4 separate regions of the Homo sapiens genome follow, and regions 1, 2 and 4 are each linked to region 3. Evidence: promoter capture Hi-C in 16 types of primary human blood cells and fetal thymus (Javierre and others, 2016). All regions are on one chromosome and are shown on one strand. The core of a region is centred on a gene start or on the middle of the fragment in contact, and the rest is flanking DNA. Distances in the headings are between cores, read along the strand shown.

Region 1 (2,700 bases), core at 155-2,654, 190 kb after region 3:
GGTGGGCGGGGCAGGAAGACATCCACTATGGAGGTGGGGAAAGCTTGTGTCCCAGGGGCCACAAACACACTTGTAAGTTTCACAGGAGTCTCTGCTTGATGGAGACAGGCCAGGGAGTGCTCAATAAATGCTCAGGGCCAGGTTTGGGTCTAAGGGTTAGGGCCTGATTGAATTTGACTGCGTATCCCATCCCACCTGGCCCACCCAGGCATGGCGGGGCACCTTGGCGAGGTGGCGCTGCCGGAGGCTGAGGGCTATCTACACCATCATGCGCTGGTTCCGGAGACACAAGGTGCGGGCTCACCTGGCTGAGCTGCAGCGGCGATTCCAGGCTGCAAGGCAGCCGCCACTCTACGGGCGTGACCTTGTGTGGCCGCTGCCCCCTGCTGTGCTGCAGCCCTTCCAGGACACCTGCCACGCACTCTTCTGCAGGTACTACTCTCAGCCCACCACACATTCCATTCAGCTGGCATCCACTGAATACCTTAACCCATCATCCCGGGCCTGCAGTGCCTGGATGGGAGATACACCAGCCCCCTTGATAGGTGGGAAGGTGGATGCTATGCCACATTAGCTGACTGCTCATGTCCCACAGTTGGTGCAGAGCCCTGACCATCTTGGGTACTGTGGTGGGCATTCAAGGTCCAGGGCTGCAGCCTGCAGGGGGAGGCCCATTAGGGCTGGGAAGTAAGGGGATTCTGCATCTGAGCGGGGTCTTGAGGGCTGAGTAGGAGTTCTCCAGAAGGAGGGGCACAGAGCATGCTCAGAACAGGAGGACACTGGGCGACTGCTGGTCCCTGGGTCACCTTCCAGGAACAAGCGTTAGGCACAAGGGGCCAAGGCCAGAGAGGCCGGCAGAGGTTGGGACATGAAAGGCAGGCAGCACCAGGCTGAGGGCTCAGCTTCCTCTGTGGAGAGGGGGCTCAGGGAGCACATGAACACATGGCCAGCATCTGTCTGACTACATGCCCTCTCCCAGGTGGCGGGCCCGGCAGCTGGTGAAGAACATCCCCCCTTCAGACATGCCCCAGATCAAGGCCAAGGTGGCCGCCATGGGGGCCCTGCAAGGGCTTCGTCAGGACTGGGGCTGCCGACGGGCCTGGGCCCGAGACTACCTGTCCTCTGTAAGTGCCAGGCGAGTCCAGGGCTGCCAGGGGGAAGTGGGCTGCCAAAGAGGGCTCTCGGCTAATGCTGTGACCAGGTCCCCTCAGATGTCCTCTCCCAGGCCTGGGGTTGTCTGTCCTGGTGGCCCTGTACCTCAGCCCCCACCAGAGCTCTGCAAGGTCTCATCCTGGGCTTCAGGAGCAGTGGCCTTCGGGGGTGGGTGTGGATGACAGGAGGGCCAGGCTCAGATGCAGCCTAGAAGTCAACACAAGAGGGCTCTGTGCCCTCAGGAAATCCAGGGCTGCTCAGCTCACGCACAAGTCTGTGTGACTCAGTTTCCCGAGATGAAGGATAGCTATGCTGATTCACAGACAGCTGCTATCAATTGAGTCTGGTCCCATGACTCAATCCCAAGCAGCGCCCCCTCCCCTCCATCTGTCCTCAGGCCACTGACAATCCCACAGCATCAAGCCTGTTTGCTCAGCGACTAAAGACACTTCAGGACAAAGATGGCTTCGGGGCTGTGCTCTTTTCAAGCCATGTCCGCAAGGTTAGACAAGGGACAAGGATGGCTTCAGGGCTGTGCTCTTTTTCTAGCCACGTCTGCAAGGTTAGAAGCTGGTGCAGAGTTTTGGGGGGGCACTTGGGAGAAAATGGAGGCAACCCCAGCCCAGGCCCAGCTGCTCCTGACACTCCCAAAACTGTCGCCAGCGGGGAGGGGAGGCAGTAGGGACTGCCGAAGCCTGGGGCCCTGGTGGGTGACAGGGCAGCACCAGCCTGGGTCCAGCCACCTCTCCCACAGGTGAACCGCTTCCACAAGATCCGGAACCGGGCCCTCCTGCTCACAGACCAGCACCTCTACAAGCTGGACCCTGACCGGCAGTACCGGGTGATGCGGGCCGTGCCCCTTGAGGCGGTGAGCAATGTGGGTGGGGAGTAGGGTGCAGCATCTGTGAGGGGCACTGCTGGGCTGCTCAGAGTCCTGCCTCAGTCTTCTCTCCCCTGTTTACCTGAGATGGCCCAGACCATCCTAAAACTCAGCGATGGTGGCACCCGTGCTGAAAATCCTGCAGTGGCTTCCCACGCCCACAGAGTGAAAGGTCCCATCCTGTGATCCCCACCAGCCCAGTCACCCCCCACCCCCACTCTCACACTCTAGCCAAGCCAAATGGTCCCCTCTTCCAACTTGTGCCCAACTGGGGTTCTCCCACCTGGGCATTCTGGGACCTGAGTACCCACCACAATGTTCTGGGCCTCCTGTGGGATACCGTCCCGGCCACTCCGGAACCTTCTGCCGAGCTCTGTGGCCTACTTGCTCCCTTCATTAGCAGCTGCTGTTCCCATAAATTCTCTTTCCCACAAGACGGGGGTAGGGATCAAGGCCAGGCTACCTCTGGGTCTCCCACAGTTTCAGGGGTCCCATGACTGTCCCAATAGAAAGGGCGGTGAGTGCCTTGCTGTGTAATGCCACAGCCCAAAGCCGGCGTGGTTGTTTAAATGCAGTGAAAGTGACCTAGAACTAAAAACGGCTCCTCCAGGCAGTAGCACATGCAAGGGCTTAGCATCCACAGGTGAGCAGTGGCGGCCCTGTTGGAC
Region 2 (2,700 bases), core at 113-2,612, 230 kb after region 3:
GGGGCAACCTAAACACTCAGACCAAGGAGTGGGACTGAATTAAGGGCAGACACCACGTGGCAGGATTCAGGATCCAATCAGATGGAGTTGTGGTATCACTCCATGGCAGGATCCAGTCAGACCATGCCTTCTGGCATCACCTCACTGCAAGATCCAGTCAGATCACACTTCATTACTTTACGCTAATAAAACCCTACCTAGCCTCCAACTCCTTTTCTCAAAAGCCAAGGCCTTGATATTGGCTTGTATGCACATGGGACTGCAAGCCCATTGACCGCTTGGTAACAAGAGGAGGAAGGATAGTTTGCCGTGCTCTGACACTGCTTCAGCACCTTTTTCTTTCTCGCTCTGAAATAGATCTTCCACTTATGGAGAATGGGCCCTTTCCTACCACCCTAGAAGCTGGGAATGGGTGAGTCTGCACTCTGTTACTAAGACATTCAAATGTGTGACCTTAGCTGACAATCACTCTATCCCTACAAGGTAGGGCATGGTATCCTTACTCTCATTTTATAGATGGAGAAACAGAAATCAGTGATATATTTCCATCTAGGTTCTTGAATGATCACTTGGAGCAAATCTTGCCAGTGCTAATCATCAGAAACCTTACCTTTTCTTTGTAGGAGCAAAAAAGGACTCCTGTTCTGATGAGGTAGTATTCCTTCTAGAGTCAGTCATAGCAGGTGGCATTTTCCTAACTAATACACTAAAGATGATTGAGAACAGGCGACATAAGTAAATGAGGATCCAGGTGAAACTGTGAAGGAATATTACTTGTTTTCAAAGTATATTTTAAACACATATACCTTCTGTATTGGCAGGTGTGTGGGAAAGCAGACTCTCTGAGGCATGGCTGGTGTGAGTATAAATTGATTTAGTCTTTTTCTGAAGGTAACGAACAACATCTATAAAAATCAAGAATTCCCATAGCCTGATTCATCAGCTACTCTTTAGCAATTTACTTTGTAGTCATTCTCTAGAAGTATTCTGGAAAGACATGTTTAAAGGTATTCATCGTGATATTAATGATAAAATTTGGAAAACACATCATTTAGGTACAAACATCATAGCTGCTATGTATGGCAGTAGTTGGCCTATTTTCATAGTATAGTATTCCATTGCATGATTATTTTATTTCATTTTTTTCATTATTTCATTTTTGTTTTCATCATTATTTTATTTCATTTTTCTCCTGTTGATGGACATTTGGCTATTTCCAGTCTAGGGCTCTGGTAAATGCTACTGCACATCACATAAGCGTTTGTTTCTTTTGGGTGGAGTGGTGAGGTCCTAGCATGTGTGGATATTTATCTACTAAAGATCCTGCTGGCCAGTGCAGTGGCTCACATCTGTAATCCCAGCACTTTGGGAGGCCGAGGCGGGCAGATCACCTGAGGCCAGGAGTTCAAGACCAGCCTGGCCAACATGGCGAAACCCCCGTCTCTACTAAAAATATAAAAAATTAGCCAGGCATGGTGGTGGGCGCCTGTAATCCCAGCTACTCGGGAGGCTGAGGCAGGAGAATTGCTTGATGTCGGGAGGCGGAGGCTGCAGTGAGCCGAGATTGCGCCGTTACACTCCAGCATGAGCTACAAGAGCAAAACTCCATTTCAAAAAAAAAAAAAAAAGATCCTGCCAAACTACTTGCAAAGTGGCTGCACCAATTTAGATTCCCATCAGCAGCGGGGATGTTACTCCTGGTATTGTCAGTCTTTTTCATTTGATGGGTCTATGGGTCTGTACTGGTATCTTAGTGTGTGTGTGTGTGTGTGTGTGTGTGTGTGTGTGTGTGTGTGTGTGTGTGTGTGTTTGAAACAGGGTCTCACTCTGTCACCCAGGCTGGAGTGCAAGGGGTGCAATCACGGCTCACTGCAGCCTCCATCTTCTGGGCTCAAACAATCCTCACACCTTAGCCTCCCAAGTATCTGGAACTACAGGTGTGTGCCCCCATGTCCAGCTAATTTTTAAATATTTTTTAGAGATGGGGTCTCACTATTTAGTCCAGGCTGGTCTTGAACTCCTGGGCTCAAGCGATCTTCCTGCCTCAGCCTCCCAAAGTGCTGGGATTACAGGTGTGAGCCACTGCACCCCGCCTTGTGTTTTTATTTGCTTCTGCCTGATCACTGATGAGATTGAGCACCTTTTCAGGCATGTTGGCCATCTGGGTATCCTCTTACAGTTTTTGTTGTTGTTGTTGTTGTTGTTGTTTTGTTGTTGTTGTTGTTTTGAGACGGAGTTTCGCTCTTGCTGCCTAGGCTGGAATGCAATGGCGCGATCTCGGCTCACTGCAACCTCCGCCTCCCAGGTTCAAGTGATTCTCCTGCCTCAGCCTCCCAAGTAGCTGGGATTACAGGCATGCACCACCATGTGCGGCTAATTTTTTTGTATTTTTAGTAGAGACAGGGTTTCACCATGTTGCCCAGGCTGGTTTCAAACTCCTGACCTCAAGTAATCCGCCCATCTCGGCCTCCCAAAGTGCTGGGACTACAGGCATGAGCCACAGCGCCCCACCCCTTTTACAGTTTATAAGACCATACACTTAAGTTCCCTCCACCAGACCACATGAATAACAACATTTGTGTGTGAAAATTAAGATAACCAGTGTATAAAGGGACCAGCAAGGTGCCAGCTCCAGTCCTAGACAATACGGCATCCCTCAACCCCTTTCCCGTGTCCACAGTTCTCAGCTTGGTACCTGGC
Region 3 (2,700 bases), core at 58-2,557:
GGAAGCCTGTGGTCCTTCTCAATTTGATACTGGAGATGATCAGGAAAGCCTCAGCTTCTCCCAGAATGAATTGAGAGGACCTTCCTTCCACTATAGCGACCAAGATCTCCACCTAAGGGGCGCTCACTGGAAGTTTGCTGAAATCCCAAATCAGCATGCTCCTGATTTCAGAAGCTGCCATCCACCTTTGCACTTCAACACAAAATCCACCACATCCTAGGCTCCAGCCCTGGAACACCAAATGAAGCCACACAAGTTCTGCACACCAAGACCTCTTCAATGGAAGGAAAATGACCACTGAGTTTGGTCCACCCTTTTCCCACCTCCCGTACCAAATCCCAAATCATCAAAACAGGCCCAACTCTGCATCTTACAGCCAGGGAAACTGGGGACCACCAGGCCAGGGCCCTCCATCACCAATGTCCCCCCCAGAACTGGCCAGGCTCAGTCACCACTCAGTGGACCCCAGCCCTCAGCAAGCACTCTTCCCCAACAGCCTTTACACACATTCTCTCTCTCTCTCTCTCTCTTACTTTTTCTTGGATAATTTCTTTAGCAAGGTACTTCAAAACAAGCTTTTAGTTTAATCTATTTCCATTTTGTGAGCAATGGTTCTTCCTAGAGTCCTGATTTCTTGCCGAAGAAGGCATTAGGAGAGGATGGCTCAGAGAGTCGCCCCGCTTCCCCTCTCAGCCAGTTCCAGGACACACACAGGCGTCCACACACTGAGGGGCCCTGGGAGGACCAGCTACCCAGTCCGGAGTCCACCCGCCCACGCCCCTGTGAGTGGTGGGCAGGCACTCAATGCCAGGACAGAGAGCTCACTACCTTACAGACAGCCCACCCTGGGGGATAAGGGGTAAAGAGCCAGACCTGGTCCACCTCTTCTCGCCCACCCTGAGGCGACCCCAGAACCGGGGCGTGGGGGGACATCACAACTAGAAGGACCGGGGGCTGCCGGACCCTGCCGTCAGAAGACCCCGGAGGGGGCCCTGTGCCTCCCTTGCCCGCCAGAGTCCTTCGCCTTCAGCTTCTCCCGGGTGGAACCCTCCCGCAGAGCCTGGGAATCCCGCCAGGGTCACTGTGCGCCCCTCCCGAGCTCCGGGGCAAGGGAAGGACCGCGGCGCAGGTGCGGGAAGGCGCGGGTCCACCCGGGTCCGGTGAACCCCGAGGAGTGGGGGCGCCCCCGGTGCGGGCCGTCGCCCCCTTACCGCAGAGCAGCAGCAGCAACGGGAGAAGTTGCGGGCGCCGCAGCGCTCCAGTCTCCATGGCTGGCCGGCCGCAGCTGGGTCACGCTCGGTCCCGCTGGGGGCGCGGCTGGGGGACGCCCGGTTGGGGTTGGGGTGGGGCGGGGCCTCAGGGGGTCCGCCCTCAGGCCGCACCCCCAGACCACGCCTGCGGCCGTGCCCCGTTGCCTCCAGATGTGGGGTGCAGTCCCTGCAGGCGCGCCGGGTGGGAGGGATGGGGGCGGCTGGAGTCTCAGCGGGGTGAGAGGGGGGCGAGGGCAGGGTTTCGAGCTGGGGACAAGCTGGGGTAAGGTGGGGTGCCGGCTGATGGGCTCTGAGGGCGGGGCTGGGGTGCTGAGCTGCAAAGGAGCTTTTTGGGAGCAGATTGTAGGGGCAGACTGGGAGGTGAGCTGGGGTGAGCGTGGGGGCCGGCTGACGGTGGGCTGGGATGCAGGCTGGAGAGACTTGGGGAACTTCCGTCCAGGCTCAGGGGCAGAGGGTGGGGGTAGACCGGGGAGGGAGCTGAGGTGAGGATGAAGCGCTGGCTGATGATGGCCTAGAGGAGTCTGGGGGTAGACTGGAGGAAGGTGGACCTGGGAGTGGGCTAGGTGTGCCCTGGCCGAAAGTAGACCAGAGTCCAGAGCTGCCCCCAGGCAGGGAGGGGAACTTTGAGCAGAGATACATCTAGGAGCCAGGTCTCCAAAGGTCAGGAAAGTGCATAAAAGAGGTTGGGGGGTGTGTGTGTGTGCGTCTGTGTGTGTGCGTGTGTGTGTTGTTCATGGAGTACGTGTGTGTGATGTGCATGTGGGGTGTGTGTAGATGCATGTGTGTGCATGGAGTGTGTGATGTATGGTGTGTGTGTGGCATGTGTGTGTTTGAGTCTGAGACAAGGTGTGTTTGTGAGTGTATGCTTGGGAAACAGTGTGTATGAGAGAGACTGGAGGGTGTGGCAACTACACACACAGAGACGTATCACACACCAAGAACCAAGCCACAAGCAAACCAAGGGACAGGAGAGTATCTGGCACCACCAAAGACCTGGCCTTGAAGAGTGTCAGGGTCCCTGAGGCGAAGGAGGGCCTCAGTTTCTCCAGCCACAGGTCACTTGGCCAGATGGGTCACCTCTGTCACCCTCAGCCCCTAGCACAGGCCCTGGCTCCAGTGGACACTTAATGGTGTCTTAAGAATTGTCACTGGTCAGGACTTCCGAGAGCCAGCTAGAGGCACCTCTCTGCCCTCCAGGGCCCACCCACCACCCCTGGGGGCACATGCTGGTCTGAGGTTGGGGCACAGGCCCAGGCTCCTACATGGATGGGCCCTCCACTCCTCTGAGCCGTAGGTACTGCTACCTTCCCAGGAGCTGAGCTGAACTTCTCCTGGCTTAGAAAGACCCACTTTATTTAACAAGACCCTTATTCGGGAGAAGAACTTTCTGTGCTTTTTTACTGAAGAAATTCTGATTACAGCCAGAATT
Region 4 (2,700 bases), core at 124-2,623, 170 kb after region 3:
CTCTGCTTTTACTTATAGAACCACGTTCTCACTTTTCTAGCCTGATCATTCAAGACCCTTGAACACATCGTCCTTATCTCCCGCTCCTCATTGAGACCCTTCCAGAACACTACAAACTTGTAATACTTAGCTGTATCACCAGCAAACCATGTCCTTCCCAATTTCAGGACCTTTCAATGTGCTTTCCTCTGCCTGGGGGTGGGTGGGGGGTGGAGAGTAGTTTCCTCCCAACCCATGAAACCTCTCCACAAAGGTAGAAGAGACAGAAAACCATTACTGAATAAGTATTAAACCAGATTGTGATGCCGTACATCACATGCAACCTGCTAAAGGCAACACAAAGACAGAAACTCACTTTTTCTATGCAGCTAAGTAGAGATAGCCCATCACATTATGTAGGTTTTGCAATTTGGAGTCAGGTGCCAAGTTAAGCCTTTGTCCTCCTAAGAAGCTGGACTCTTGGCCCTTTCGTCCCTTAACAATTGCATTTTTTTCTTTCTTTGTTTTTGAGACAGAGTCTCGCTCTGTCTCCAGGCTGGAGTGCAGTGGTGCTATGTCGGCTCACTGCAACCTCCGCCTCCCGGGTTCAAGCGATTCTCCTGCCTCAGCCTCCCGAGTAGCTGGTACTACAGGCACGCTTCACCATGCCCAGCTAATTTTTGTATTTTTAGTAGGGACAGAGTTTCACCATGTTGGCCAGGATGGTCTCGATCTCTTGATCTTGTGATCCGCCCGCCTCAGCCTCCCAAAGTGCTGGGATTGCAGGCGTGAGCCACCGCACCCAGCCAACAATTACACTTCAAGGAGATGGCTCCCAAGAAACATTCCTGAGTTGAACCTGGCCATATAAGAAAAAGACTTGAGTACATTTGGAAAGGAGAGAGGCTGAAATTTTGAAAGAAAAAGGGAGGGGGATGGTTTCTCGTCCCTTCTTTTCCTCAGGGAAAATTAAACCCTATGTATAATTTGTATTTGCCCTTCCACCTGCATCACCTTTCCCACATGCTCCCACAGGCAGGCTCCTGTTCATTCCCAAGGCTCCGTGTCCACATCGTGCTTGGATTCCGCCCGGCCCCGCCTGTGCGGCCGCACCAGGAAGGCACCACCCATTAGGGGCTCAGCGCGTCCCTCCAGGCCACGCCGTCAGGCCTCCGTCCTTTTAGCTGTAGGGGCAGATTACGTAACTCCAGCCTTCTGGTCACTAAAGGAGGGTAACAAAGGGCGGTCGAGAGACTCCACTGAGTTGACACGCAGACGCAGCCTCAGGACCCTAAACTCTACGCCCCAGCACACCCTACCAAGCGAGCGCCCGCGGCCGCGTGACGTCATCTACCCCAAACGCTGTGGCCCCGGCCACGCACGGCTTCGGGGCGGGACTACGCGGTGACGTCGAGGTGCGCGGCGCAGCGCGCGGCGTCAGTCTTGGCTGGCAGACCTGTACTCCGTACTCCGTACTTCGTAGTCGCAGCGGCGCGGTCTTCGGCAGTCTAGTCATCCACCGCCATCCTGGGCCCCACGTGTTGCCTGACCATTCCTGAGCCCAGGTAGGGGTCCTGGGGGATTGGGTTCAGTGGCGGGCGGCGTGGGAGGCTGGGCCGCAGTGAGTGGGGGCACCAGTGATTCTTGGAGACCAAGCCTTCACTACACGTGCTACTTCCTCTCAAGAGGCGGTTGAGCGCGTTCGGAACATTTTACCCGGAGGAGACTCGGGGATTACTTGATGAGTAACCTCGTGCTTCTCTTTCAGCCGAGAAGTGGGGCTTCTGCATGACCTGGGTGGACCCCAGTAGGTGGGATGGGACGTGTGGTCAGGAGGGACCTCACCGGAAGGCATGGGGTGGCGTGTAGACCTGCCGCAAGAGAGGCTGTAGAGTGGGCCAGGCGTTGCAAGGAGCTAGAGCTGGATAATGGTTCAGAGGCACAAGCTGAAGCTAACTGCGTTTGGAGCTAACTGCATTTGTTCCCTTCTAGGTGGGAGCCGTGGCTGAGGTGACGGTCTCAAAGTGGAAGAGCTTACTGTCACAGCAACTCCTTTGCAAGATGCCCCGGTAAATCACGTTGCAGAGACCCCAACTCTGCCTTCCTGGAACTAGGCCTGCGTTTTCTCTGAACCATTATTTCATGGGGAAAATGAAATCTACTTCATGTGCCTGGTCTACTTACTCCTTCAGAAGTGATTTCTGAGCCGTAAGATACATGAGAAAAAAATGAAGGGGAAAAGGCAGTATTTATATTAACTACATGATGATAAGGATGTTTCTGGTCACAGTGAAAAGCCATGCTAGAATTGTAGTGTCATAGAATAATGTGGAAGTTTAGTTCGTGTTGTCTGATCTATTTAATAATTTAATAAGGTTATCTCTTCCAAGACACCTTCCCTTCTTCCTCAGCCAGAAAGGATCTTTCCCTGAGAGTCATTAGTAGCTCTGGGCTCCTGGAACCAAGCTCAGGTGCCTAATTGAACTCTGGTCTCTTCCCACAGCCCCCAGCAGGGACTGGTGCTTAGTGAGAGTGGACTGCCAGATTCCTTGAGTGTGGGGGATTTGGGTGAATGAGGGTAGCAAGCCTCCAGCGTGCTTGGGTCTGCGGTGACCCTATGCATTCCTTCAGTGCTTGCTAGAACAGTTTTGAAACGGTTTGAGGCCTTGCCCTGCTCCATCCAGAGCAAGGTTATAGAAATTTCAGACAATGACTTCCTCC

What was found. Contacts are between HindIII fragments. The CHiCAGO score rates a contact against its expected background, and 5 or more counts as called.
Region 1: a contact is called between a fragment that was not itself captured here and the fragment with the promoter of RAMP3 in region 3, in 4 of 17 cell types (endothelial precursors, M0 macrophages, naive CD4 T cells and 1 more). The highest score is 6.9, in endothelial precursors.
Region 2: a fragment that was not itself captured here is called in contact with the fragment with the promoter of RAMP3 in region 3 in 10 of 17 cell types (non-activated CD4 T cells, M2 macrophages, naive CD8 T cells and 7 more); the score reaches 8.7 in non-activated CD4 T cells.
Region 4: the fragment with the promoter of SNHG15 here is called in contact with the fragment with the promoter of RAMP3 in region 3 in 4 of 17 cell types (erythroblasts, endothelial precursors, total CD4 T cells and 1 more); the score reaches 9.1 in erythroblasts.

The regions. Positions count from the first base shown.
Region 1 is chr7:44,963,369-44,966,068 of GRCh38, reverse strand. It overlaps MYO1G (myosin IG), which reads left to right. Exons shown (of 22, transcript NM_033054.3): 17 at 209-432; 18 at 980-1,124; 19 at 1,550-1,654; 20 at 1,907-2,020. Among named protein-coding and RNA genes, the nearest start is that of MYO1G, 14 kb to the left of the region's middle. RefSeq lists an enhancer at 1-11. The HindIII fragment of the contact is 2,717 bases long and covers 46-2,700 here.
Region 2 is chr7:44,924,354-44,927,053 of GRCh38, reverse strand. No RefSeq gene overlaps it. Among named protein-coding and RNA genes, the nearest start is that of PURB, 40 kb to the right of the region's middle. The HindIII fragment of the contact is 4,333 bases long and covers 1-2,700 here.
Region 3 is chr7:45,156,398-45,159,097 of GRCh38, reverse strand. RAMP3 (receptor activity modifying protein 3) reads right to left here and starts at 1,307. Exons shown (of 3, transcript NM_005856.3): 1 at 1,212-1,307. The coding sequence starts at 1,269. The HindIII fragment of the contact is 23,160 bases long and covers 578-2,700 here.
Region 4 is chr7:44,985,369-44,988,068 of GRCh38, reverse strand. It overlaps SNHG15 (small nucleolar RNA host gene 15), which reads left to right and starts at 1,373. Exons shown (of 3, transcript NR_152597.1): 1 at 1,373-1,544. It overlaps SNORA9 (small nucleolar RNA, H/ACA box 9), which reads left to right and starts at 2,559; the gene lies at 2,559-2,691. RefSeq lists enhancers at 780-1,527, 1,563-1,682, 1,528-2,274. The HindIII fragment of the contact is 12,531 bases long and covers 1-2,700 here.